Linked DNA regions of Homo sapiens: regions 2, 3, 4, 5, 6 and 7 are each linked to region 1. The links are contacts of gene promoters, found by promoter capture Hi-C in blood cells and fetal thymus (Javierre and others, 2016). All regions are on one chromosome and are shown on one strand. The core of a region is centred on a gene start or on the middle of the fragment in contact, and the rest is flanking DNA. Distances in the headings are between cores, read along the strand shown. Region 1 holds the start of IGSF6 (immunoglobulin superfamily member 6). Region 2 overlaps NDUFAB1 (NADH:ubiquinone oxidoreductase subunit AB1). Region 3 overlaps COG7 (component of oligomeric golgi complex 7). Region 4 overlaps USP31 (ubiquitin specific peptidase 31). Region 5 has its middle 130 kb from the start of HS3ST2. Region 6 overlaps HS3ST2 (heparan sulfate-glucosamine 3-sulfotransferase 2). Region 7 has its middle 60 kb from the start of HS3ST2.

Region 1 (3,186 bases), core at 490-2,989:
GAGGCCGGGCGTGGTGGCACATGCCTGTAATCCCAGCACTTTGGGAGGCCGAGGTGGGCGGATCACGAGGTCAGGAGATCAAGACCATCCTGACTAACACAGTGAAACCCCGTCTCTACTAAAAAAAATACAAAAAAATTAGCTGGGCATGGCAACATGCACCTGTAGTCCCAGCTACTTGGGAGGCTGAGGCAGGAGAATGGTGTGAACCCGGGAGGCGGAGCTTGCAGCGAGCCAAGATCGTGCCACTGCACTCCAGCCTGGGCGACAGAGCGAGACTCTGTCTCAAAAAAAAAAAAAAAAAAAAAAACAAAACAGACTGAGAATAACTTTCTGTTAATGAGAAAATATATCATGAGCAGATGCCAAGGGCACAGACATCATATCATGGTGGGGAGATTTTTCATAATTTTCAGTGGTGCAGATGACGCTCTTCCCATGTCTGGGGAATTGCCTGCCCAGAGTCTGGGAGAGACACAAGGCCTGGGAGCCGCTTTCCTGGCCTGCCGTGCAGCTGAGGCACTGGCACGCAGCCTAAGCCAGGCACACTTGCCCATGCCCTGGAATGGAGAGCCAGTGACCCAGAGTAGTGGGGATGTGAGCTTCTCCTTCTCTGGGGGTGGAGCAATGGCAGTGAGACCAAGGGGCTGGGGCAGTGGTTGAGCGATGCTGACAACAGGGCTGATGGCACCTAGTGTTTGGCAGTGGCAGTAGCATCCTCTTCAGACCTGTTTATGGTGTGATTTGAGGCATTCTTCCTGGCTGTGGACCCCACACAAGATTCACTAGCCCTCCCAGTGACTCTAGGATCTACCTTCAAATGTTTGCATAAATTTCCTTTTAAGTCAGCCTGAGTCTGTTTCTGCTGCTTTACAAAGAAGACCCTTACTGAATCACCACTAAGTGCTGGGGGAGAGGACACAGAGGACAGAGGGCCCACATATTTGTTTCTCAACACATTAAAAGGGGGTCTTTGGGCCAGGCATGGTGGCTCACACCTGTAATCCTAACACTTTGGGAGGCCAAGGCAGGGGGATCGCTTGAGGGCAGGACTAGCCTAGACAACACAGAATCTACAAAAAAAAAAAAAAATTAGCCAGGGGTGGTGGTGCATGCCTGTAGTCCCAGCTACTCAGGAAGCTGAGGCTGCAATGACCTGCAATCTTGCCACTGCATTCCAGCCTGGGTGATAGAGACCCTGTCAAAAAAGGGGGGAAGGCAGGTGTCTTTGGATTCAAAACTGGAGTACAAAAAGTTAATAACAGACAATTTATTTATTCGCTGCATTAGAATGTGTTGTTTACTAACTTTTCTCATCTCTACACAAAGCCACTTCTCCTTCTGCTGTTCTTTGTTCCCAGCAGTTACTGGCCCAGAGTGGCACCCAGAGCAGGTACCCTAGACAGTGACTGAACTGTTCTGAAAAATCCAAGTACGAATTATTTGTCAAACAATACTCCTTCCTGGAAATATGTGCTAGGTGTAAATCAAAATCTCACCCAGAAACATCTAACACCTATGACAACTGTAAAATCCATGGAAAAAAAAAAGATATGCACATTTCTAAATGTGCTCCAGGCCAAAATCTCAATGTTAAATGGTGAAGCCATCCTTGCACAATTTCAAAAAGTTCCTGATTATGGTTCCTTCATAAGAGGTTCCTCTCTTCAGCTCTTCTTCCCTTCTGAAAAAAGAAAGCCAACTTTCCTTTCAAATACACACCCCAACCCGCCCCGGCATACACAGAAATGGGGACTGCGAGCAGAAGCAACATCGCTCGCCATCTGCAAACCAATCTCATTCTATTTTGTGTCGGTAAGGTTCTTTTTCTTCTCCTCCTTCATTTTATTTAAATCAACTGCTATTTTTCACCTAATGCATTTATATTTTAAGCTCCTTCAGATTAATTTTTAAATGTATAACATTATGAAAACTGCCTAAGAGGATAAGTTTCCTTTTTCCCCTGAGAAATAGACAATAAAAAAATAGCTGAGAAAAAGTTTCATATTAACCTTGAAAAGTCTCTTTGCTATTATGCTAATTGGAGACAATCTGACCAAAGGGTTGAAAATATTCTTAAAATCGTAGGTATAAGTTATCAATAATTTAATTATCATACAAACTTGATCTGCACATAGAAAGCAATAAATGATTATTTGCTGAATATTTTCAAAGAACAATTTCTATAAAAGTACTTTTCATTTAAGAAAAAAAAAACTGCCATGACTCCAATAGCCATCCCATAGTATATCTATTTTTAAAATTCTGTCTACTTCTGTTTTTTTATCTATGAAAGAGAAAGGATTTCCAATACATCTAGTAATCTCAGATTTGCCCACACAATTTGGATTATAGGGCAGGGAAGGGGGGAAAGTTCTTAATTTTTTCTCATCTGTGAAGAAATATATCAAAATGTTAATGGGAGTTATTTCAGGCAAAAGGACTATGGGTGACTTTTTGCTTCTACTTTTAATAACCTGTTTTTTGCTAATAAGTATATATTACTTTCATAGACTATTTTAATTAGCATTATTTTAAAGAAGAATTCCTGTCTTTTAGAGATATATTCTGAAAGATGCAGATAAAATGGCTGGGATTTGCTCTAAAATAATATGGGAGTGAGGGAGTAGGTGGGAGGAGAAAAGAAACAAGATTGGGTCGAAGCCATGTGATGGCAGGGGGTTGACTGTACTACTTCGCTACTTTGATATGTTAGAAATTTGAAATCTAATATAATAAAGCTTTGGGCTGGGCGTGGTGGTTCATGCCTGTAATCCCAGCACTTTGGGGGCCAAGGTGAGAGGATCACTTGAGCTCAGGAGTTCAAGACCAGCATGAACAACATAATGAGACCCCCATTTCTACACAAGAAAAAAAAATAGCTGGGCGTGATGGCACCTGCACTGCACCTGCAGTCCCACCCACCTGGGAGGCTGAGGCAGGAGGATCACTTGAGCCCAGGACTTTCAGGCTATAGGGAGCTGTGATTGTGCCACTGCACTCCAGCCTGGGCAACAGAGCAAGACATTTACTTACTTCTTACTTACTAGATAGAGAGACAGCTTTGTTTAAATGTCAAGAATTAGTTCTCTTCCTACTTTCAATATGGCTTTTTTGTTTGTTTGAGACGGAGTCTCGCTCTGTCACCCAGGCTGGAGTGCAGTGGCAAGATCTCGGCTCACTGCA
Region 2 (3,186 bases), core at 282-2,781, 1.9 Mb before region 1:
TACCCTCACCAGGGGTCTTGCTTTGTTGCCCAGGTTGGTCTGGAACTCCTGGGCTCAAGCGATCCTTCCACTTTGGCCTCCCAAAGTGTTGGGATTACAGGCGTGAGCCACCACACCTGGCATCGTACCATTTCTTTTTTTTTTTTTTTTTTTTTTTCTTTTTGGAGACAGAGTCTCACCCTGCCGCCCAGGCTGGAGTGTAGAGCCATGATCTCAGTTCACTGCAACCTCTGCCTCCTAGGTTCAAGTGATCCTCCCACTTCAGCCTCCTGATTAGCTGGGATTATAGGCACACGCCACGATGCCCGGCTAATTTTTGGACTTTCAGTAGAGATGGAGGTTTCACTGTGTTGGGCAGGCTGGTCTTAAACTCCTGACCTCAAGAGATCCGCCCACCTTGGCCTCCCAAAGTGCTGGGATTACAGGCGTGAGCCACCACACCTGGCCTCGTACCATTTCTTGATAAGCACACAGCCTCTGTTAGATCCCTCCAACTGAAATTTCTTTTCTGCCATTGCCATATTACCTCATTTCTTCTCCCCCTTTCTCTTTATTCCTTTCTTCTCCATTTTATTTGTGACTTGGAAACCTATTTGAGTCATTGTTAAGTAGGCCGGTCATGTGCCTGTATAAAAGGTCTCCTTAACCCATGTATAATACGAAAGGAGACTAGACATTTAGACAAAGAAACATGCTCTAAAACTCTTGAAAGTACTCAGAAAGGCTCGTTAGAATATCTATCATACTCTCCAACTCATCTCTTTAGTTTGCTGATTAAACCTGATTTTTTTTTTTTTTTTCTTGAGACGGAATCTCACTCTGTCACCCATGCTGGAGTGTAAATGGCATGATCTTGGCTCACTGCAACCTCCGACTCCCAAGTTCAAGCGATTCTTCTGCTTCAGCCTCCTGAGTAGATGGGATTACAGGCACATGTTACCACGCCCAGCTAACTTATATTTTTGGTAGAGACGGGGTTTCTCCATGTTGGTCAGGCTAGTGTCGAACTCCTGACCTCGTGATCCGCCTGCTTCGGCTTCCCAAAGTGTGGCAATTACAGGTGTGAGCCACTGCGCCCAGCCTAAACCTGATTTTAATAACTGACTTCTTTTTCTTTTCTTTTTTGAGACAGAGTCTCGCTCTGTGGCCCAAGGTGGAGTGCAGTGGCACAGTCTCGGCTCACTGCAACCTCTGTCTGGGTTCAAGCAATTCTCATGCCTCAGCTACCTGAATAGCTGGGATTACAGGCACACACCACCACGCCCAGCTAATTTTTGTATTTTTAGTAGAGACGAGGCTTCACCATGTTGGCCAGGCTGGTCTCGAACTCCTGGCCTCAAGTGATTGGCTCACCTCGGCCTCCCAAAGTGCTGGGATTACAGGTGTGAGACACACATCGGCCCAATACCTGTTCTTTATGCAAGATGAATGTTTCTTCTACAGAGGTTATACTGGTTTGGTTCTCTGGGCAGTATTTATTATGATTTTTCATGGACCTTTGTGAGTTTCAGGGACCTGAGCCCTAACAAGCAGCCCCACTTTCTATAGGGAAATGCCTGAAGAACGCCAAGCCTCGGACTTAAAATCAACTTCAGGAGGTAAACAAACCAATTTAGATTAGGGATTTCTTTCTTTTTCTTTTTTTTGAGACGGAGTCTTGCTTTGTCGCCCAGGCTGGAATGCAATGGCGCAGGCTCGGCTCACTGCAACCTCTCCTCCCACATTCAAGCGATTCTCCTTCCTCAGTCTCCTGAGTAGCTGGGATTACAGGCGCCCACCACCACGCCTGGCTAATTTTTGTATTTTTAGTAGAGACGGGGTTTCACCATGTTGGCCAGGCTGGTCTCGAACTCCTGACCTCAGGTGATCTGCTCACCGTGGCCTCCCAAAGTGTTGTGATTATAGGCGTGAGCCACCACGACTAGCCAGATTAGGGATTTCAGTAGTGAGCAAAACTGCCAGATACCCTGTTTTGTTTTCTCTGATTCTGCGTCGTACCTTCCACAGCATTAAACCCCCTGACCTGTAATTGCAGCTCATTCCACATTTGTTGAATGAAATCTGGTCAATACCCTAATACCTAAACATTGAGCCGACTAATACCAGAGATACGTGAGGTATTGCTCTAACATGGCACAGGCCAGAAGGGCTCATGGTTTGGCTGGTGGCCATGAGGCAAGCCTCGCTGGAAGGGAAACAGATTGGAATGTAGTGACTGTAAGCTCCCTCATCCCCTCTTTGGGTGGGAGGCCAGCTTCCTTTGTCCTGGCTGAGATCAGGGAGATAACTGCTGGAACCAAACTAGACCTTTCTGGTGTATGGTCCTCAATTTGAATTGCCTTTGGGTTTACCATGACAGCTCTTTCCTTTTGGGTTATTTTGACTTGGGTCAGCCTATTAAAGGTGGCAGCACCCTGTAGAGGCCTCGGGATGCTGAAGATGCCATGAGAAGACACAGGCATTCTGCAGACGCTAGACAATTTTAGTGGCAGTTAGTGTCGCAGAGCAGTATGAATGTCCAGAGCCTGAGGGTTGAAGCCAGGAGGCAGAGGGGCCGGTCCTGACTCCCAGGAAGGAGGCCTGAGATGCTGCTGAACTGTTGGGGCTTCTGCGATTACCCAGTCCTGCAACTTAGTGTGTCCTGGTGGCCACAATGAGAATCAGATGCTGTGGGTTCTCTAAAGCCCCGAAAGTTCTGTGAAAGTTACCTATAGGCTTGTGCATTGATTTAGAGGTATTTTCCATTCAATGACAGTGTTTCCTTCCTGCCGTCGCTCTAGGTTCCTGGTAGAGTTACACAGTTGTGCCGCCAGTATAGCGACATGCCTCCTTTGACGTTAGAGGGCATCCAGGACCGTGTTCTTTACGTATTGAAACTCTATGACAAGATTGACCCAGAGAAGGTAACTGATGGTGGTTTGAATTTTTTTCTTTAAATATAGAGTATTTAATTACATGCTAGAAAATGCAAAGGGAAAGATACTCAGTAAAAATCTCCCTGGCTCCCAGACACCCAGGCCCATTCTGGGAGATAGCCAGCGCTACCAGTTTCATGTATGTTTCCAAAGGTACTCAATGCATATGTTAAAGAAGTATACACACGTGTGTATATTATATGTATGTATCTCTCACCCTTTTTAAAAAACACAACTGGCCGGGCACTGTGGCTCATGCCTGTAATCCCAG
Region 3 (3,186 bases), core at 252-2,751, 1.8 Mb before region 1:
GTGTGTTTGCTTTTTTAAAGTTCCCATCTGGTATAATCGAAGTAGGAATTTTGAAAGACATAAATAACCTCTCAGTATCATGTTAAAATATGAATTCTGTGAGGAACAGTGGGGAATACCTTGCAGTATCTGGTTTTCACGTCATGCTTATTTTTCAAATTTATGATCCTCATGCATGAGTTAATTCAGTATCTAGGCAGGAACTTGTGAATACTAGCTTCCATATATCCACCTTCATCCTGGTGAGTTTTTTCTCATGTCTACACCAGAAAGGCTGGTAACAGTATATATACATTGTATGTTCTTTAGATCAGTCCAAAGTGTTTGTGAAGGTGTTTACTGAAATTGACCGGATGCCCCAGCTCCTGGCCTACTACTACAAGTGTCACAAGGTAAGAAGCTGTGCGCGATGACAGTTGTGCAGTTGTGGAATGCTCATAACTCTGGGTCACAGAATCGCAGGTTCATAATTCAGAAGGTAAGAACATTTGTCTCCTTGCCCTCTGGCTGTTTTTCTCTTAGTTAGCCAGTAGGGGGTGCTCTTGGTCTAGCATATGGATTTGTTTAATTGCCAGTTGGAAAAAGTTATCCGTTTTCATTCTCTTTTCTGTTTACAGCTGGATTCATTATAGACTTGAAACGTTGTTTTAATTTATTCTCATTTTTGTCTTTTAAGGGAGATTTATGTCTTAAGCTTTATTACACCCTCAGAAGGCAGTAAGAATTTCTCTTTTTTTCTTTAGAGATAGGGTTTCACTATTTTGCCCAGCCTGGAGTGCGGTGACTATTCACAGATCCGATCATGGTGCACTACAGCCTTGAACTCCTGGGCTCAAGTGATCCTCCCGTCTCAGCCTTGTGAGGAGTTGGGACTACAGGCGCGTGCCACTCCACCTGGCTTGGAATTTTATGTTTTCTAGGTTTGCTGAAGTTAGATTGCCAAAAAACTTGACAGCTTCCTGAACTGACCTTAATTCCTTCAAGTCCAGTGCTCTGTGTCTTTTAAGCAGTGATGTTAGGACATGAAGCTTAAACATACATGTCTGCCCGCTCTTGCCCCAACATCTATTCAGAAGAGTGATGGTGTGCCAAGTGGTTGCACATTACATGTTTTTAGGGCAGGATAAATGGAGAGGGGATCACATCCGCAGGGTGACAGATTAAAGCTGTGAATCAGTGCAGATAACTGCAAATGTTTTTTTTTTTTTCCTGCCTTTCTTTGAAGTGAATGGACCTCACTGGGCTGCCCAGTGAGCCCATTGAGCAATCCGTGATTACGCTGGGTAGCAGGGCAGGGCAGTGTTCACAGGCAACCTATGTTGACGTACCCAATAAGGTTCCCTTTGTTCTGTCTCTGCAGGTGCAGCTTTTAGCAGCCTGGCAAGAGCTGTGTCAAAGTGACCTATCCCTGGACCGGCAGCTTACCGGACTCTATGATGCCTTGCTTGGTGCTTGGCACACACAAATCCAGTGGGCTACACAGGTAACAGCTCATTTTTGTTCTAGGGAGAACAGAGTCTGTGGTGACAAGGGAACGGGTGACTGCCTCGGGAGTGGCCACCCTCAACTGCAGAGCACAGCTCAAAGAACTTCCCCGTTTGTTGCTGTCATTCAAGGGGTTAAAAAATAACCAGTTAGGCCGGGTGCGGTGGCTCACACTTGTAATCACCACACTTTGGAAGGTCGAAGTGGGCGGATCGTTTGAGCCTAGGAGTTCGAGACCAGCCTGGCCAACACGGTGAAACCCCAACTCTACAAAAAATGCAAAAGTTAGCCAGGTGTGGTGGCACAATTACTAAGGAGACCGAGGCAGGAAGATTGCTTACGTCCAGGAGGTTGAGGCCACAGTGACTATGGTCGCACCACTACACTTCAGCTTGGACAACAGAGCAAGCAAGACTGTCTCAAACAAACAAACAACAAAAGAAAAAACGATAACCAGTTAAATGGTTTAAGTTTAAAAGATAAGCTTAGAAATCCACGTCAGTGAAATCTTTAGGTCTCCACTGAAACTCTTCTTACCACTCTTATCTATAACTTAAATAGGACCTAATGTGACAATGCCGCCTGTTGTCCAGCAAGGGAGCCTGTGGAATTCCTGAAGGCCATTTTCTTCCCATCTAAAAGCAGGAGGCCCCTCGTCAGGTGGTGTTCGAATGAACAGGAATGTTTTTATCTTTACTTCAGGTAAAATTTACCTACCTGAAGTGAGTCTCCCTTGTTCTCATGATACACCAAGAAGTAGGGGAAGAGATAATTTTAAAGGTACCCCCTGACTAGGAGTGAGGAGAGACAGAGGAACTTTGTTTCAAGTGGCAACTATCCATCATTTACTTTCCTCAAGTCTCTAGGCATTTCCAGCCATAAAGGTTTTAAACCGTTGTTCTCTTGCCTTGAGACAGGAGGCACAGTAGAACCTCTTGTAAGCAGGGGAAGAGCCTGTCTTACTTTGCAGTAATGACTTACTGGGCCTGTTTCTAGTGTGGCTTATTTTATTTATTTTTTTCTTATTTATTTATTTTTTTTCTCCAAACCCTTGTGTTGAGGGCTGATTTTCAATAGCACTCAGATAGAGAGCTATTGAAATAGATTGCAGTGAGGGAGCTGCTCTGCTATGTACGAAACCCCAACCTAGAAGCAGGTCATCTACGAGTGGTTTAGTGTCACGTTCCCCATATTTTATTTTTTACTATAGTTGTGAATCACTCTTCAGATGTTCATCAGTCATTTGCTGGAATGAATTTGACTAAGGTTGGAGAGAATTCCTTATACCGGGTCATGTCATTCAAGTTGTTGGTTAAAGCACTTTTCTCCATCCTTGTTCTTTTTCCTTGAACTAACCTAATTCATTCTTAGGATTTTGTTTTGTTTTGTTTTGTTTGAGACAGAGTCTTGCTCTGTCATGCAGGCTAGAGTGCAGTGGCATGATCATGGCTCACTGCAGCCTCGGCCTCCTGGGTTCAAGCTGTCCTCCTGCCTGAGCCTTTCAAGTAGCTAGGAATACACGTATGTGCCACCATGCCTGGCTAATTAAAAAAAATTTTTTTTGTAGAGATAAGGATCTCACTGTGTTGCCCAGGCTGGTCTCTAACTCCTGGCCTCAAGTAATCCTCCCACTTTGGCCTCCCAAAGTGCTGGGATTACAGGCATGAGCCACCATGCCTGACTTTATTTTATTTTTCTTAA
Region 4 (3,186 bases), core at 447-2,946, 1.5 Mb before region 1:
CCCACACTGCCCCTCTTTGCTTACAATTGCCTGTAAGTAGCCACAGCATTTGTAAACTTTTCGAGGTCAGAGCCTAGTATTTAAGTTTGGTTTTCTCCTCTTTTCCAAAATGTGAAAATCAGTTTCTACAGCATCTTTGTATGTGAACATTTCCATTGCTTTTTATGAGTTTGTGTTCACTTTTTTATCCATTAAGCTGTGAACAGAAATGGGTCAATAATTCTAGAAGTACAGAGACTGATTTATAGGCATGCTTTGGCAGACATGAACAGATTCTTAGAGGCCTGGCTTTTTAAAAGTAATCTCCTGAACCTTTAGTAGGTTTCACTCTACATTCATTCATTCACCTCCCATTTATTGAAGGCTTACTTAATCAGTTAGGAATGCCTTCAGCCCAAGAAAGGAAAATCCCTAATGATAGTGCCTTAAGCAATGAAAACGTTGCAATTGGCAATTGGCACACACAGTGATTCCGGAGGTGGATGGTTCTATGGTTCAGTGGCTCGTTGGGCCCAACAAGGATTCAGACCATTTCTGTATTTCCACCTGTTGTCTTTTTAGCTATCATTGGCTTTTTGTTCTTAGGTTTGTCACCTCATGGTTGTCCAGTGATGGCAGCCACTGCACCTGGCATTCTACCCAGGACGGCAGGAAGTCATTAGGGAAATAAAAATTCTTCCAGAAGCCCCCTCAGCAGGCTTCTGCTGATATTTCATTGGCTATAACCATGTCAATTGGCTGTCACGGAGGCTGGAGGGTGGGCATTTGGGTTTTCCTGTCTTCACAGAGGAGATGAGTAAAGGAGGGGTTTACCTCCCAGGGAGCTATGAAGAGCTGAGTCGAGTAGGATCTAGGAAGTTCCCTGAGACAGCGCTTCTCATGCGTCAGTGTGCACATAATTCACCTGGGGATCTTGCTACAAAGGAAATTGAGATTCGGTAGAGCTGGAGCGGTGCCCAAGATTCTGCATTTCTAACAAGCTCCCTGGTGATGCCAGTGCTTTTGGCTCAAGGACCATCCTGTGTATAGCAGGCATCAAGGAACAAGGAAAGCATTACCAAAAAGGTGGCTCCTGAGCAGTGTTCTGAAAGATGAATAGAAATTTGCAGGGCAAGGAAGTGGTGGAGTTGCATGAAAGGGCGTGTGGTTTTGGGGAATAGACATTTAGTGGCTGGCTGCACCATAGAGAGCAGTGGGGGTGCAGGAAGCCTGGGAGAAGAGTGTTGGAAACTCACTGTGAAGGGCTTCGTGAGCTATGCTGGTTTGGATTTCATCCTCTGCAAGTTGAAAATCCAGAGGTGATTTTTAAGCAAGGAAGTGATATAATTAGATTCTTTTCCCCTTTTTATTCCCCCGGTTAGGTAACTCTGGCAAATTGATTACTTTTTAAAAAAAGGTTTTATTTTAGCTAAATTTGATGGGTATTATTTTGAATATAAAGAAAGTTGAATGCTAAGGCAGGACGCAGTGGCTCATGTCTGTAATCCCGGCACTTTGGGAGGCCAAGGTGGGTGGATCACTTGAGACCAATAGTTCCAGACCAGCCTGGACAACATGGTGAAACCCCATCTCTACTAAAAAAATACAAAAAGTAGCCGAGCGTGGTGGCACACACCTGTAATCCCAGCTACTCGGGAGGCTGAGGCACGAGAATCTCTTGAACCCAGGAGGTGGAGGTTGCAGTGAGCAGAGATCATGTCACTGCGCTCCAGCCTGGGTGACAGAGTGAGACTCTGCCTCAAAAAAAGGAAAAAAAAAAAAGAAAGGTAAACACCAGAAGGTGGACCTGAGGCATACCTCACTGTGCTTCGCCTGCTTGGGGTGGACATCGTTATTTCATTCAGATATTCTTCACTTTCACATCGCTCACATTCAGCCTTAGAATCCTGCTCAGTTCTAGAAGGGCTCCAGGCAGCCACCACCACCTAGTTGAAGTTGGCAGAGGAGATAAAACCAATTTGCCATCTTGAGATAGTTACCTTGAGGTTAGAAAAGCACTTACTATGTCTTTGTGCTTTTATTATCTTAAAACTTTAAGTTACTAATGCTTTTCTTTGTAAGTTTTTCAATTAGAGTTCTTTCTTCCTTTTTAACCACATTGATTTGAGTTTTAGGAGCTTGCCAAGTAGATGGTTTTTGGTTTTGGATGGGCTAGATGGTTGTTAAAGTTGGGTTTTCATTTCCCAGGATGAAATGAGTTGACTAGCTCAACCTTGATATGCTGTAAAAAATGTCTCTAGCCATTACCTTTATCCTTTCTCTTTTCACACAGATTTTTTGTTTGTTTGTTTCCTACTCTTAGAGCACTGGTTTTCAACACGGGCACTTTTGCCTGTCCTCACCCCACCCTGCCCCCACCCCCTGGGACATTTGTCGATGTCTGGAACCCTACTTGGTTGTCACAGCTGGGATCAGGGTGCTACTGGCATGTGGTGGTAGATTCCAGGGATGCTGCTAAATGTCACACAATGTGCAGGACAGCCCCCCTTACTAAAGGGTTTTCACCCCAAAGTGTCAGTAGTGCTGAGGCTGAGAAACTGTTTGGAGGAAAGTTTGGAGACTCAGCGCAAGTTTCCTTTTACTTCCCCAGCCTTTAAAATGGTTACCTTGTTATCTCTCGCGCTCTCTCTTTCTCTCTCTCTCCCCCCCCCCAACCTCTCCCTCTCTCTTTCTCCTTCTCTGTCTCTGAGTGTGTATATGTGTTTGCAGCAGCACTAGGGTAAAACTTGGGCTTCACTGGCAGGACCCTTGCATCACTTTCCTAGTAAAATAGTGAGAGTAAATAAATCACTTTGAATACATAATATGCCATTTTAAAGGGAATCAGCTTATTGCTTTCATAGGAGCATGGGTGCCCCAGATTCTTACAAATGCTTTCTGAGTTTTAGAGCTCAGAGCCGTTTTGCAGCAAGTAAAAAGATGGATGGTCATCTTTCAAGCAAGAAAGATAAATTTTATGGCAGCAGTTTTTAAATTGTGCTGGCAAAGAACAGCTAGCACAGAGTGATCTATTGATAAAAGAATTGTGGGGACTCCTTCCAGATTTGCAGTGAAACAAATGGTAATTGATGAATAGAATTCTCTCTCCCATTTTTTTTTCCTTGAACTTTGGTGCCTTGTGGTGCTTATTTATTAGTGAGAATTCTCAAGTCACAAAAGGAATAAACTTGTATAAGAGACTAGTGG
Region 5 (3,186 bases), core at 455-2,954, 1.3 Mb before region 1:
GCTGCCACATAAGACATGCCCTTCACCTTCTGCCATGATTGTGAGGCCTCCCCAGCCACGTGGAGCTGTGAGTCCATTAAACCTCTTTTTCTTTATAAATTACCCAGTCTCAGATATGTGTCTATCAGCAGCATGAAACCTAACTAATACAGATACAGTGGAGTTCACAGAGCTGTGACCATGCATCATTGTTTTGTTAGGATTAGGTTCTGCTGCATAAGCAGAATCTACTCTGCTTGATGCCACATCCTGACTTCATTCCTTCCCTTCCCAGTCCTACTTTCTACTCCCCTGCAGGCTTTTCCTAAGAGCATGCCTAGTAAATTACCTTCAGATGAATCATTATTTTGAGGCTCCTAGGGAACCCAATCTAAGAACCACCAACACTCATGGACATTAGGATCGATCAGATTCTAAGCCAGTTCAACCAATCACAACTCAGCACCTCATCCTTGCTGGTCACATTCACATTATCAATAAAAGTTAATATTTGTGCCAGACACCGTACTAACTGCTTGATATATATTAATTCATTTGATCCCTACAGTAACTCTGTGAAGTAGGTAGTCTTATTATCCACATTTCCAGATGAAGAACTGAGAACCAGAGAAGTCAAGTAACTTGTTCAAGGTCCCGCAGGTAATAAGTGGCATGGCCTGAATTCAAACCTAGGCAATTTGGGTTTTTGAGTTTGGGTCTTAACAGCATGCTCTGTAGCTAGTCACTGCAATGCACCCAATAGAACTCAGTAACTAAATAGTAAGAATTGTTAATGTGAGCAACAGAGACCAATTGGGAAGTGAATTACCCATGGCTAATATAATAATTTGGTTGGAAAAGCAACCAAAGTGTCTATAAGAAAGAAATTTTGAATAAAGCTGTGGGCAAAAAAATAAAATAAAATAAAATAAAATAGAGCAATTTTGAAAAAAAAAAAAAAAAACAGCAAGTTTGTGTATCATGGTTTTCCTGGGGGTTTTGCTGGGGTTACCTCTGACCTCTGGACATCCTGCACATATTAACACCACACACACACACACACACACACACACACACACACACACACACACGTGGAGATGTTGTCTTTACAAAGCTAAAGAAGCCCATGCTATTCTCATGAGGCCTCTGTTGTCTGAATTCCTGCTCACAGAAGCTGGGGCCATCTTATCTGGGTGATAGCCAAGAAAGATGGTGTTGGGGGTTACTTGAAGCTTGAGCTAGGATGAGGGAGACAGGCACAGAGATGTGGACTGGAATGTCCCAGATAGCTTCTCTCATCACATGTGTGGGGGTTGTGCTGAGATGGCTGAAACAGCTGGGTGCCAGCCAGCACCTCTCTTTCTCTTACTCACTTTCTTTTCACGTGGCCTTTTTTGTGACTGGCTTCAGCTTCCTCACAATATGGTAATTTCAGAGTAATCTGACTTCTCACATGGGGAAAGCATCCCCTCAAGAGTGCAAGCAGAGGCTGTCTGGCCTCTCTTAAAGGCCTAAAAAGGGCACAGCATCTCTTCTGACAAATTTCTTTGATCCAATCAATCATAGATTTGATCATAGGTTCCAGGGAAGGGAAAAGGATCTCCCCTCTCAACCAAAAGAATGGCCAAAAAGAATGTTTGGCCATCTTTACCCTGCCACAGACTGTGGTTTAAGCAAGATAGACACAAAGTTTTATTGTTATTAAGATGTTGAGATTGTTTGTTACAGCAACTGGCTTATGCTGACTAATGCACCTTGTCATCACTGCATGTATAGAGGGTTATTCTCATCTTCCCTCAGAAAGGGTCATCTAGTAAATGAAGCAAAACTGAGAGAGAATGGAAGACACTGTCCAGGGACTATTCAATCTCTGTTTCTTCTCAAGACCTCAATTCCTGATCTTCTTCCACCTCCTTTTGCATTGAAGAAAAATAAGTTCAAGTAAGAGATGTATGAACTCTCATATTTGGTTCACAGAACAGTTTTCACCAGGGAAGTTGAGCTAGTAGTCAAAGTGATTAAAGCCATTTGGAGGTAATGAGCTCACCATCGCTGGGAAGAATTTGTGCAGAGGCTGGTGTCATTGGGATGCTGGAGTTGAAATCCAACCACTATCCCTTCCACTACCGAGGCTGCTTTTCCTCAAACCCAAAGAGATCCCAGTTTGGTGGAAGTCTTTTCCAGCCCATGAGACCACCTGGGTAGAAATCTAAGCTTTAGATTGTCATGAGCAGGCAACCAGAGCGTGTAAACATACATCTTTCTGGAAAGTTCCAAGCCAGGTAATAAGAAACTGGTCCTTGGCATTTAATAGAAAATAAAGGATTTCAGAAGTTTCTTAGAGCAAAGACTAGAGACTGATAATAATAAAGATGTGTGAGTGTGAAATAGATGAGACCTTGACCTCTACTTTGCCTGGGTGTGGGAAGGGGTCTTTTGTAATCTACTGTGGATTTCTCTAGAATAGGGACAATGTCTTAAATATGCTTGGTTCCTTTCTTTCCCTCCTCCTCAACATCCTGTGCTTCAGCATGACCTGCCGCCTCCAACTCCAAAATACATACTGAATGTGTCCCTTTCTCTCCATCTCTGCTGCCCACACCCTGATCCAAGCCACTATCATTTCCTGCCTGCACCACTGCCCCAGCCTCCCAGATGGCCTTGGTCGCATGCTCATCTCTCCCCCTACAATCCATTTTGCACACTGAACTTGAGAGATCTTTCTGAAACAAATCATGTTACTCTTCTGATTAAAACTCTCTCATGGTTTCTCATGGCACTTAGAAGAGAGTCAGAATTCCTGCAATGACTAGAGGCTCTACAGATTCCAGCCCTTTCATGTCTCATTGACCTCATCTCCTATCCTCTTGTCCTCAGGACTTGCCACTCAGCCATACGGGCTTCCTTTCAGTTATTCATTCACCCAGTGCGATCCCACTTGCTACTCTCTCTGCCCGAAATGTTATTCCCTTCCCATCTTCTTGTCATCCTGATCTCTGCTTAAAGTCACCTCATCAGGGAGACTTTCCCTGATCAGCCTACGTAAAATACAGCCCCTCATCCTTCTGTATCCCCCTACTGTTCTTTCTTTTCTTTATGTCATCAATTTATTTGCCTATTTATTTATCCTATGTCCTCTACTCTAAAAGGTTATGCCCAGGAGACACTTTGGCTATCTTGTTTTCTGTGATATCCCTCTAGCCTAGA
Region 6 (3,186 bases), core at 439-2,938, 1.2 Mb before region 1:
TGTCCTGGTTCCCTCATCAGCCTGGTGTTGCTTTGCCCACCTGTCCAAGCAGCTAGGAGATACCACCCTGCAGCTCTTACCTCGGGGAGGAAATGTGGGTGGGGGAGAACCCAGGCCAGACACATAGTTGAGGTAAGCATCAGAGATGGCATGGCAGAAAGACAGCAAATTGGAGAGAACCCACTGCAGAAGGCTGGGCTCTCTGGTAGTGGCCTGAACGGGAGTGGTTCCCAAGAAGGATCAGGCTAAGGACAAGAAGGTGCAGACTCTGTCTCCTGGTCTCTCCAAATGATGGTGTCTTTCTGGCTATATCACTCGGCCTTCAGCTTTATCTCCATTTACCCACAGAAAGAAGCCCCTCCTTTGGGTTAAGGGTAAAGCTTTTGATTTTTCCACTATCTGGATTTCAGCCTCCTGATCAGGAAGTTATCACCAGGGGCTTTGATGTGGGCAGATCATACTAAGATCCACACTGCCTGCAACTCTGCACCTCCCCCTTTGGAAAGCACAGTCCACTCCAATGGGTGCAAGGGTTCTTTGGCTATGTCTGCCCAGTGGACCCTGGCTTTATGATGGCAAGCTGTGAACTGACAAGGCAGTGGACAGAGAGCGGAACATCCTGTCACCCACCGTACCTAGCTCATGGGATTCAGGAAGAAAGTAAGAACATGGGTTTTAAAAGATTCCAGAAATCCCCATGATTTCTGCAGTTAATGTGTATGACTTGGTCATAATAAAAAGAAATGTACAAAAATGTTCTTTACATACAGAAAGATGTTCTGGAGGTTATGGAAACAGCATCTAAGTGGGGTAGTATTACCCTGCACAGAAATGGCAATCCACAAGCTAAACACTTGACTCTAGGGGTGTGGATTTGTAACTGAAAGAAGCACAAACCACACAGCCTTTTCCTGACACTGGAGCCTCCCAGCCTTCCTGGTCAAGCAATGGGGAGAGGGCAATTACGACCAGACCTCTAGGATAGTCTTTTAGAAATATAAAGTGGGGAAAGGTGGTAGAGGGGGAGAGAAGAGAGAAGCAGAGCTGTCAGCATGCTTGATGTTAAATAAAACCTACCAAGACTCAGCTGAGAATTTTAGCAGAATCCAAATGTGCTAAAAAAAAATAAATAAATAAAAAATAAGACATGGCTTCCCTCTCTAAGGTTCACAGCTAAGCTTGCTTAGAATCACACATGCCAAGGTTAAAAATAAAAAGCAGCCATCCCTGAATGACATGGGCTCCAGGATGGAAGCCTGAGGTATGCTGTTTAGTGGTGGAAGGAAGAGAGGGGAGGGAGGAGAGTCTGGGTTCAGGGCATAGGTATTTATTGGAGGGCACACTATCTGAAAGCCAGATGCTCAGAATTTTGCTGTTTTGCACTTAAAAGGCACTTCGCATTGGCAAAAGGTGTCATAATGATCTTCAGATTTTCCATCGAGGAAATGCTGGCCTGCATTCGAATGTGGTCATGGCTGACCCACTCTGGGCTCTGCTGTTCAATGTGTTTGCCTCCTCCATCCCGGGATCTGACTCAGACAGTGTCCACATGCACCTAGACGGGATGCCCATGAGTCACAGCTTGGAAAGCACAGTGGGCTATTGGCATTGGCATGAAGCCAGATCTGCCACTCTGTGCCACCCTACCCTATTAACCAGACATAATGGTGCTGGGGCCACCCACAGGCTAGCTAGCCCCTGGTTGGCTGCAATGGGGACAGACTATGTGTCTGCCTGCTAAGGATGATGCATGACCCACTCGTCCCCACAACTACAACCATTGCGAGCCAGGAGTAACCTGCAAAGGTGCTAAATCAGGCCTGCGGTCCCCCTACTTTTGGTAAATCCAGGGCCCTCTATTATAAGCCCAGTGGGGTCCTCTTTCTAACAAAGTTGTCCCTTGTCCAATATGCATATGACCTCTACTGCCTAAAGCTGTAGATAAAAACAGCAGATTTAGCCTCAGCTACTCTGTCAGCTACCATGTTACCCCTCCCCAACGTCATTACTATGCAGATGTTTCTAGAAAGTCTTCAAAGGGTCAGGTGAATTGTGAGAATTCTGTGACCTATGTGTTAACAGGGAGCCGGGACATTACACCACCCACATGTGGGCCAGTCCTACACTTCAGCACCATACAGGGCTAGGGAGGCAGAAAGGCATTGAGGCGTGGACGCTGCCACCTCACAGAAGCTTTGGTCTGTGCCTTGACTCCCCCAGTGGGGATAATTCTCCTCCCTGGCATGCATGGGAAGCATAGACAGTCTATGCATGACTGGCTGCCCCTAGCACCCTTGCTAGCCTTCACCCGCAGGGCCCACCTTCAAATTCCACATTTTGGCTGCTGGTTTAGAAGCATCACTTAAAGTGAAGTGCCTTTTTTACACCTTTAAGGCACTTCAGAAAAGCCTTGGAAGGTATACAGGGCAAGGGCTGTTTTCCTGCCCATTGGGATGGATGAGAAAATAGAGGCTGATAGAGTTTAAGAAACTTGCTCAAGCTTAAGTGACAGACCCAAGACTCGAATCCAGGGCTCTTTCCACTACTCAAAGACCACCTACCAGGGCCAGAGCTACTGGGGGTCTCAGCCCCAGTACAGCAGCAAATACCTGGGTTTGAGATTGAGACTCCCTAAGGCATCTTTCTTACTGGAGACCTCTGGCGATGCACTGTCATTTGGCCTGAACTCTGGGGACCTTTCCCAAACAGAGCCTTGCTGCAAGGGGTCTCTGAACTGCCTTATCTTTCTCAGGGTCCTTCAGGGGCTGGGTACCAGCAAAGACCTACAGAGGGTTAGGATGGTGCCGTGTTCAGGCAGCACAGGTCCTCGCCTGTCCCTTCCTTGGGCACCCTAAGGGCTGGTCACAGAGGGAGTTAGCCCTTTAGCTGGCACTTAGGTTTGACTGGAGATAATCCTTTTCCAACGACTCCAGTGACGAGGGAACGCCCTTTGCAGTTCCAGAAACTGCCCGTCTAGATTATCACTGGGAAGTTCTGGGTAAATTCTGCTATAGCCCCCCATGGCCCTGTGTGTCAGCCTGAACCCATACAATGAGTTGGGTTAAAAGAAAGAGAAAACACAAGAGACGGATGGCTCTCCCAATGGAAGCGATCAGAGACCCGGCGCACGGAGCGGAGCTCCTGGTCCTTACCTGTACCAATCCAGCCCGCGGCCGTAGTTCCTGT
Region 7 (3,186 bases), core at 490-2,989, 1.1 Mb before region 1:
TGTTCATAAGTATTTTTCTGACTATTCCCTGATATATAAGGCAGAAAACAGTGGGGAGAAGACCTTAAGAGTCTTCAGGACTGTTTTGGGAAAGGAACTCTAGGAGTAAATTGAATGTTCACCTCATCTTGGCAAGTGGTTCTAGGGATTGTTATATAACAACAAAGGCTATCCGGGGTGATCACTATGTCCCAAGCACTGAGTTATTCACTTTACATACTCAGTGTCATTGAATCCTCTTGGCAAACTGAATCCCCATTTGATGGAGGAGGAAGCTAAGTCATGAAGGTTAAGTAACCTACCCAGTCACCCAGCTAGGCAGTGTCAGGGACAGGATTTGAACCCAAGCCATCTGATTCCAGTTGCCACACTCCTGACCACCATAACTTGTATAAACTTTCTGTGGCCGTCGGTCAGACCTAGGAAGTGCATCCTTATTTTTGTAGTCTCAGGCTGGTGGTTGAGATGAACACAAGGACATCTGGGCTCTATTTGCAGCCCACATCTCCTTACTGATAGTACTCTAACATCATCAGAGAAAAACCAGAGTGTAGTTACAGGAATTAGGATTGATGCTAGACAGACAAAAATGGCGGATGTCCTCTTCAGTATTTCTCACCTCTATAGGTCTCTGGACATCACCAAAGCATTGCACTGGGAAGAGCCCATTGCCTCCACCTCTGTGTGCCTGATCTATTACTTTTCAGCCCCAGAAAAGAAGCAAGGATAGAATTTACAGAAGCGTCACTCTCTAGGACTGCCATACTCCCTGTTATCAAAGTTGCCTTGCAGGCAACAGATCATTTTTGTATTAGAGTGATGGGAATGACACTCTGATGTCTGGTAGCTTAACCTCTGAAGTGGCCCCAAGCAATCAGTTCTGGAAAATTAGCAAACATTCTGTATTAGTTCAGGCTGCCACTACAAAATACCCTAGACTGGGTGGCTTAAACAATAAAAATGTATTTTCTCACAGTTCTGGGGGCTGAAGGTCTGAGGTTAGAGTGCCAGCATGGTCAGGAATGAGAGAAAGAGAACATTAATGTGAATGCTCTGATGTCTCTTCTTATAAGAACACGAATTCCATTGCATGACCTCATCTAAACCTAATTGCTTCTCAAAGACCCCGTCTCCAAATACCATCCCACTGGGGATCAGGGCATCAACATATTTTGGGTAGGCACAATTCAGATCATAGCACACTCCCAAACTAAATAGAAAATCATTCCTAAAACCCAAACAAGGATCTGTATGGCAGAATCATGCCAGCTGATAGAAAAAAAGCTAAGACAGTAACTTCCTGGCTCAGCAAGAAGGCAGTAGTAAATGGCCCCAACAGCTACCAGGTGCCGGGAACGATCTGAAATGTTTTACATGCATCACCTTAAATTAGCATGGTGTCGTTGGTACCATTACATGCCCATTTTACAGAAGAGGAAAGTGGGGTCACAGAGAGGTGGGGTGAACTTGCCCAAGCTCATATGGTTAGTCAGTGGCACCAGGATTTGACGCAGGTAGTCTGACTCTAGAGCCCCACACTTCACTTTATTTGGCTGTCTTTCCACTAACCTCCCTTGGGGAAAGGCTAACCTGATCCTTTCTCAGAACACTGACACATTGAGAGGTGTACCAAAGCATAGAGTCACTCTCCCTGGATTCAAAACCTAGCCCTACTATTTCCTAACTGTGTCTTCTTGGGTAAGTTTCTTAACCCAGCTATGCCTGAGTTTCCTTACCTGTTAAATGATGATAACCAATAGCTTCTACATAATAGGGTCATTGTGAAGGTTTAATGAAATAATAGACAGAAGCTCTTAGTCCTGCACATAGCACGTAATAAGTGCTCAAAACAATTAACTTGAAATATTGTGATTATGCCTTCAGGGAGCCTCTCTGCAACCATTTGAAAAAGTGCCTGGTCACATGTTCCACCATTCCCTGTCTAATGGGAAGTCACATCAGCAAAGCCACTGGAACTGCAAAGCCACTAGGCTCTGTGCTTGGCACCGTGTAGGTGCTCAGTAAACATTTGTTAAATGAATGAATGGATAATCCAAATAACCTCCAGCTCCAATGATAAAGTCCTCTTTCACCCTCCTGGAATGCACATTGATTTGTTCTGGATTTCTTGATAATTAATCTCTTGATGAAATTTAAGACCTGTTAATTACCCCTGATTAATTAGGGTGAACTTTTTAATTGCTTCCCTAAGCTGAAATACACTGTCAATAGGCTCCATAATTAGTGACCCAGTAATCAGTTTTAAACCAATTATCCCAGGGTAACAAGTGAAACTAGGCAAGAAGTGCCCCAGGGGCTTGGGCCAATTTCAGTGGAACTTAGAATAATACAAATTGGCACTTATGTGGGTGAAGAATGCATGTTCAGTGTAATTGGAAATACAGATACTCGGATTCTCTTGGGTATTTCATTTGTCTGGCTTTTCACTGCTGTGTTATTTGAAAACAATAACGTAAGTGTACCTTCCACACACCCAGTGAACAGCCTGGAGCAGATTTTTGGGGCTTCCTGACTGCCTTTGGGCACAATAAGGGCCAGCACATTAGGCTGTGCAGGTTGTGTACTGCATAATTCCAGGGACACCATTCACACTACAGTCTTTGTGAATGGCACCCCCAAAGGTTGTACAGTATACAACCTGGTTGCAATAACCCGTTGTTCACGTGATGCAAAGAATAGGGACTCAGTCATCAAGAATTCCTCCAAAGACAGTGATGGGCTCGGAGGCAAGCTGGGCTTTCCCAGGATGGGAAAATGTAAGTGCCAGGCACTTTTCATGGTCTGTCTAGAACTGTGGAGTTGTATCACATGCACATTTAATTTCTGCAAATCCAACCACTTTGATTTGGGGAAAAAAATTAAGAAAAAGAAATAATAACTTAAATAATACAGGCAATTCTGCCTGCCACTTCATTCAATATGTGCAGACCCCATAGTGAGCCTGAAATGGGGCTTCAAATCTGCTATTGTTTGTGTGCCTCCTACAAACAGAATACCACACCATATGGAGTATTTAAAGAATGGTGCTTTTTTTTTCAGCTTTATTAACTTTTTAAAACAGCAGGACCTCTAATCTAGCCATTCATTTGGTGTCCAACTGAAGAAACAGATTTCTTCTTATAGTGGAGAGAAAATGACTGGGCTGGTCTTTTTAAAATTGATAGA

Evidence for each region. Contacts are between HindIII fragments. The CHiCAGO score rates a contact against its expected background, and 5 or more counts as called.
Region 2: a contact is called between a fragment that was not itself captured here and the fragment with the promoter of IGSF6 in region 1, in 1 of 17 cell types (neutrophils). The highest score is 5.8, in neutrophils.
Region 3: a fragment that was not itself captured here is called in contact with the fragment with the promoter of IGSF6 in region 1 in 1 of 17 cell types (total CD8 T cells); the score reaches 5.3 in total CD8 T cells.
Region 4: a fragment that was not itself captured here is called in contact with the fragment with the promoter of IGSF6 in region 1 in 3 of 17 cell types (total CD4 T cells, total B cells and monocytes); the score reaches 7.0 in total CD4 T cells.
Region 5: a contact is called between a fragment that was not itself captured here and the fragment with the promoter of IGSF6 in region 1, in 1 of 17 cell types (erythroblasts). The highest score is 5.5, in erythroblasts.
Region 6: a fragment that was not itself captured here is called in contact with the fragment with the promoter of IGSF6 in region 1 in 1 of 17 cell types (endothelial precursors); the score reaches 5.4 in endothelial precursors.
Region 7: a contact is called between a fragment that was not itself captured here and the fragment with the promoter of IGSF6 in region 1, in 1 of 17 cell types (erythroblasts). The highest score is 5.2, in erythroblasts.

Annotation. Positions count from the first base shown.
Region 1 is chr16:21,651,161-21,654,346 of GRCh38, reverse strand. It overlaps IGSF6 (immunoglobulin superfamily member 6), which reads left to right and starts at 1,739. Exons shown (of 6, transcript NM_005849.4): 1 at 1,739-1,815. The coding sequence starts at 1,749. All of the region lies in intron 4 of METTL9 (methyltransferase 9, His-X-His N1(pi)-histidine), which reads right to left. The HindIII fragment of the contact is 3,735 bases long and covers 1-2,743 here.
Region 2 is chr16:23,586,914-23,590,099 of GRCh38, reverse strand. It overlaps NDUFAB1 (NADH:ubiquinone oxidoreductase subunit AB1), which reads left to right. Exons shown (of 5, transcript NM_005003.3): 2 at 2,781-2,903. Among named protein-coding and RNA genes, the nearest start is that of NDUFAB1, 7.8 kb to the left of the region's middle. The HindIII fragment of the contact is 6,808 bases long and covers 1-3,186 here.
Region 3 is chr16:23,431,842-23,435,027 of GRCh38, reverse strand. It overlaps COG7 (component of oligomeric golgi complex 7), which reads left to right. Exons shown (of 17, transcript NM_153603.4): 5 at 310-392; 6 at 1,361-1,483. Among named protein-coding and RNA genes, the nearest start is that of COG7, 20 kb to the left of the region's middle. The HindIII fragment of the contact is 941 bases long and covers 1,031-1,971 here.
Region 4 is chr16:23,143,052-23,146,237 of GRCh38, reverse strand. All of the region lies in intron 1 of USP31 (ubiquitin specific peptidase 31), which reads left to right. Among named protein-coding and RNA genes, the nearest start is that of USP31, 4.8 kb to the left of the region's middle. The HindIII fragment of the contact is 4,574 bases long and covers 1-3,186 here.
Region 5 is chr16:22,943,691-22,946,876 of GRCh38, reverse strand. No RefSeq gene overlaps it. Among named protein-coding and RNA genes, the nearest start is that of HS3ST2, 130 kb to the right of the region's middle. The HindIII fragment of the contact is 982 bases long and covers 1,214-2,195 here.
Region 6 is chr16:22,815,062-22,818,247 of GRCh38, reverse strand. It overlaps HS3ST2 (heparan sulfate-glucosamine 3-sulfotransferase 2), which reads right to left. Exons shown (of 2, transcript NM_006043.2): 1 at 3,153-3,186. Among named protein-coding and RNA genes, the nearest start is that of HS3ST2, 2.5 kb to the right of the region's middle. The HindIII fragment of the contact is 1,015 bases long and covers 1,181-2,195 here.
Region 7 is chr16:22,752,750-22,755,935 of GRCh38, reverse strand. No RefSeq gene overlaps it. Among named protein-coding and RNA genes, the nearest start is that of HS3ST2, 60 kb to the left of the region's middle. The HindIII fragment of the contact is 3,804 bases long and covers 1-3,186 here.